Regions from separate parts of the Homo sapiens genome. Here region 2 is linked to region 1. The links are contacts of gene promoters, found by promoter capture Hi-C in human tissues and cell types (Jung and others, 2019). All regions are on one chromosome and are shown on one strand. The core of a region is centred on a gene start or on the middle of the fragment in contact, and the rest is flanking DNA. Distances in the headings are between cores, read along the strand shown.

The links. Contacts are between HindIII fragments. The study calls those that stand out against the background at their distance.
Region 2: a contact is called between a fragment that was not itself captured here and the fragment with the promoter of EIF3H in region 1, in 1 of the 25 tissues and cell types used here (dorsolateral prefrontal cortex).

The regions. Positions count from the first base shown.
Region 1 is chr8:116,754,464-116,757,163 of GRCh38, forward strand. It overlaps EIF3H (eukaryotic translation initiation factor 3 subunit H), which reads right to left and starts at 1,360. Exons shown (of 8, transcript NM_003756.3): 1 at 1,203-1,360. The coding sequence starts at 1,334. The HindIII fragment of the contact is 13,175 bases long and covers 1,009-2,700 here.
Region 2 is chr8:117,042,834-117,045,533 of GRCh38, forward strand. It overlaps a transcript of SLC30A8 not described here. Among named protein-coding and RNA genes, the nearest start is that of SLC30A8, 91 kb to the right of the region's middle. The HindIII fragment of the contact is 4,504 bases long and covers 1-2,700 here.

The sequences.
Region 1 (2,700 bases), core at 110-2,609:
AATCTCTTGCCTGCATCTTTCAAACTCTGCTAACCACAGACATTAAACTCATAATAATAATCATAATTAACATTAAGTGATTACACTGTACTACAGGTCACCACATAAACTTTTTCATTTAATCCAAACAACTCTATGATACAGATACTTCTCATTCCCACTTGACAGATGAGGAAAGCAAAGCCTGGAAAGGCTAACTTGCCTTAAAGTCACAGAGCTGGTTAAGTGGAAGAGCCTAGAAGACTGAATGAGCTCTTAACCACCAGGCTACACTCTTGTATCCAGTTTAACTAAGTCAGTTCAACAGATTCAATTATATGCTGCGTTTAAATTATCAACAGTTTCCACTTAAAAATACCTGCTTGCAATTACAATTTTCACATGAATTTAAAAGTACTTTCTTATTACAAATATCTAAGATCTGCATTAATAGGAAATAACCTTTAAAAAAATCAAAGGAAGAGAGGATGCTTTTTAAAAAGAGGGCAGGAAGGATACTTTTAAAACTAGAACGTCATATAAATGCATTTTGCTTCGAAACAACAGAAATAAAATTTCTCATTCTAGATTTTCCTCTTCCCAGCTAAGTCCATTTCCTTATCAAGAATTTCCTTGGATGTCCTAGTTCATGAACCTTAACTACTAAATACATTTAAGGCCCTTCTCTTTGATATTCTTTTATGTTTTTCAGAATGAACACTACAAAAGAGTATTCTAAATTATACGGTTTCAGATAAAGCGCCGAAGTACAGGCTCAAAAGAGTGGCTACAAAGTACATCTCCACTTGGAACGTTATAGATGTCAGATCCCAGCAGGGAATCAGTGGAGTTTCCTTACTCTCTCCTTCCCAGAGCCCTACTAGGTCCCTAAATCCTTCTCGACACCTTCGTTAGCTGCTGGTCTCCAGGAGTCTTTCTTCAAATCCCCCCACCGGTCATCTCAAAACAAGACCCCAGGAACCTGTCACTCACACCCCTATTCTCAGTCCCCTTCCTGAAGCCCCAACTGTCCCGTTAGAAGACAAGAGAAGGCTGTCGAAGCTCCTGAACAAAAAGTGAAGATGAAAGAGAAACGTACTAGGGAAAAACTTTGGCCCAGCCACACCAAGCCCAAGGGGGAGAATGCTAGAAAGTACGTCTGGTGGGACGGGGCTGGGAACTGCGCTCCCCACGTGGGCCAGAGGAAAAAGAACAGCACTCACAAGGCCATCTATCTGCACTTGCTTCACGGCTGAATCTCCCGAGCCGCCTTTGCCTTTGCCTTTCCCTGCTGCGCCGGCGGTGGAGCTGGAAGAGGTGGCAGTAGAGCCGGTACCTTCCTTGCGGGACGCCATCTTTCCAAGCAGACAGGAAGAAAGAGAAACGTGAGTTACCGGAAGCGGAAGTACAAGTCTCGCGTGACGTCACTCGCAGGCCGGCGTTCGAGGGGCGGAGACGGAAGGAGAAGCCAAAATTGGGCCCCGCCTCCCTCCTGTTTTCCAGTTTTACCTTCTTTCCAGGCGGTATCCTTTGTGCATGCCTACTGTACATTTTCGACCTCTTTCCGATGGAATGATCTAAGATGAAAGTAAACTTTTTAAATGTTTAATCATTCACCACTAGGCAAACCGTCATAATAGCATTACAGTTCGCATTATTTCTGTAGTGTCTCTTATGTAAAAATGCTTTCATTTCTGATCTTGCAATGAAGTGCTGTACTAACTCGCATTATGCATATTAGAAAACTGATAAGTGATTTGTCCGACATTATTCTGTTAATTAGCGATGAGCCAGTATTGCACAGCTTGTTTTACGTAATTTTAGATAGCTGCTTGTAACCACTTAGATTATATAGAAATTAAGACATAGAAACTTTTATCAGAATTACCAGAAATAGTAGCCTTTTGCTATTAGCTTCATGTAGAGATTTACCTGAGTAAAGTACCAAAGAAGTTATCTGAGGTATTGTTGAAGGATGATACAGAATATATTTTCTAAAAATCACGCTGATTTATGACACATTACTCTGAAATACACATCTCAAGTCCTTAAAAGAATATATGACAACTGTAAGAAGCCATTTTAGATAAGTAATTTGAAACATTCTTTTCTACTTCCAAATGACTTTTTTCCTATCCCTTATTTTTGAAATGTTTATTCAATAAATATGTATACAGAACTGATGAAATAATTAAATCAATAAACGGCATATCCTGCCCTGAAGTTTTTTGTTGTTTTGTCATTGGGATCTGGTGTTATATTTCAATCTGGGAGGAGAAATAGTTACATGTTACAAATTCTTAACACTACAAAATGAAAAGTTAATATCCACTCATTTCAAGTGTATATGAAATATTTATTAAAATACACCAAACCCTAGGTCACACAGAAAGTCCACAAATTTAGAGGTTTTAAAGGTTGATCCTGGTAAAATTACACTAGAAATTGGTAACAGAACATTCACAAAAAGAAGAAAGAAAATCTCGCATGGAAGAACCAGACTGGAGGTTTTTGCCTACCACTAGGTAGCTGGAATGATGAGCATTAGAAAACAGTGAGGCTACTTATAAACAATAATACATTTATTTATTGCTTTATCCTACAACATACATAACACAGTTTTGTTTCAGAATTACAATACCAATATCCTCATAGCAGTAAAACTACAAAGTAAAGTTTAAAATATTTTGCAATTTTTTTGTCCTTGAAAATATCCAACTA
Region 2 (2,700 bases), core at 131-2,630, 290 kb after region 1:
ACCGGCTAATTTTTGTATTTTTAGTAGAGACGGGTTTTCACCATGTTGGGCAGGCCGGTCTCGAACTCCTGACCTCAGGTGATCCGCTGGCCTTGGCTTCCCAAAGTGCTGGGATTACAGGCGTGAGCCACCGCGCCCAGGCTAATGTAGTACTATTCATCTGTCAATTTACAGGGTTACTTATGTGAATCAACCTTTATGGAGGGTTTATGCTTAGGATCATATCAGAAACCCTGCAGGATATCAAAGATATATAACATAAAGCTTTCTTTGAGCAGCTTATATTTTTTTGGTTGGGGAGAATAAGTTTCCAGACAGTATATAATTAGAGAAAAAGCAAAAATGTAGAGTTTTCACTCCCAGTTAGCATGGAGCCTGTTTTTTGGGATTCTAGCATGCTAGAGCTTATCAAGTTGTGATTTGAATTACAGAAACCAAGGACATTGGATCCAGACCCTCCAAACTGTGGACTTTCAGAGACAGGAAATCAGCATGGGCTTCGTTGGTCAGGAGAAGCTTCCGGCAGAAAGAGAACTTGAGTGGGTTTGTGAGGATGAGTGGGAAGTGCGTGAATAGAGAGACACCAGGGAAGTCATCGTATGTCAGGCAGTCAGAATAATCACAAAAGTGAGAGAAGCCTGGCATGTATTTGGAAAAATGAGAGATACTCCTGGTTGGGGAGATACCACACAGGTGATAAAGGTGATTGATAAAGATAGGGTCAGATTTCAGAATAACTTGACTATAAAACAGGGGTATTTTAACTTGATCCCATAAGGTCTGACACCAGACACTTTTCCCCCATAGAAAAATATAATACGGATAATATTGTGACATGTGCCTGTGAGCTACTCAGAGATTTGTGCAATTCTCAACATTTTCCATTTATAATTCTCTCCACCTGCCTTGCCCCACCACCACCCTGGGTTGAAAATGGCGTACTGAAATCCACGTAAATGAGATACCTCAAAAAACAGTAGGTAGAATTCATAGTTACATTATATGAAAAGGTAAGTTCAAAAATTTCAGTATGTTTTTTAGTTCTGCAATTATTTTATTCAATAAGTGTTGAGGAGGCAACTTTAAGCTACAGGCTATAAGGTAAACTAAGTCAGATGGAGACACTGCCTTTGAGGAGCTTACATTCTTTGGGGAGAGATGATCCATCAACTAGTAGTTATTATATAGTGTTGGAAGAACTGTAATGATGGAAGCGTAGGATGTGATGTGAGCTTTGTGAGGGGACTCTCATTAGAACTGGCCTTGACAAGTCTATCCAAAGGAGGTGACATTTAGATTGAGGACTGAGGAGGTAGTGGTCTTACCCAAGTGAAGAGCCTGGGGTAAAGTGTTCAGGCAGAGGGGTATCCGCGTACACAAAGGCCAAGAATTCACCATTGTTTCTGGGGCTGCTGTGCAACAGAAAGTCAGTATGGAAGGAAGACTAGTAAATCGGTAACATTGTTTATTCATTGGACAAATGACTGAGTACACATTGGAGGCTGTTTGTCCTTATTAGGTGATGTTATTCTCTGCAAAAGGGTGATGGAGAATCCAGTAACGAGGCCTGGAAACCAAAGGGCAAATTTATCACCTTTTTAGACGCGCCCACCAGTCCCCAGAGGACGCGTCCCAGCAGATGATTCTTGTTCAATCAGCCAACAACTGGGTTTGGAGGAGAAAGCCAAAGCATCCCCAGGGGGTCGACTGCTTCCCTAAGGCGTGTCAGCGGGTTGACAGAGCACAAGCATTGCTTCTAGAGCAAATATTGAGCGTGGTTTTCAGAGAAAAGGTTTATCTTTGGGGTATAATTATTTGGCCCACTTAATAGACGTCTTGAAAAATAGGGCTCTCTTCTTTTTAGCAGAGCTTGAACAAAAGGAAACTTAAAATCAATTAGAGGGAAAGAGAAAACCTATTTCTGTCCTTTTGGAGACAAAAGCTGTAACACAATTGGTTAAAATTCGGGGAATCAGATCCTCCTGGGCGGTGGGGGAAATACTGCTGCAGGACCGCGGAGCCCTGGCTTCAAACGCAGGCTCCTGCTGCCATCTTGTGGCGAGAAGGCGCCTTCTGCCTCAGAACTAGCTGCAAATTCCGAGCTGTTGTGCTTCTCGTGGCTCCATCCACAAGATGCATTAAACAAACGCGAGCCAGGGATTCCAGTAGGGAATTTAACACTGGCCTGCCAGGAATTAATTTCTCTACTGACAGCATTGCCTTCTGCATCCTCCTTCTTTTGGAAAAGGCAAAATTTCATCCTTTCAGCGGTGTAACTGGGAGCCAGCCCAGCTTTGATGGAACCACGATTTGACCTTTTAAAGCATGTTGGAGGGTAATAATATGGACCATTAGCCTTATTCTTCTCCTAAAGGAAGGTTCTGGTTTTTCTAGTGGAGGAACCTTTTACAATCTGGATGGAGGAAATGCTGAGATGCTCTATAACATCAGGGAAGAATATTGCCATCTTTCTCCTCACCAGGCTTCCATTTCATCGTTCCCCCACCGTACTTGAAAGGTTTTTTATGATCCAACAAATTACCTTTTTTTAAAAAAAGCAGTTAATTTATTGTTTATTTGGTATTCATCAAAGAGACCCCTAAGTGTCAATTTTGGTTTCTGGAAACTGAGAAATGACAAACACAGCTAGCCTGGGTTAATATCATTCCAGCCCAAAGCAAAGAAGTTGGATGTTTTGGC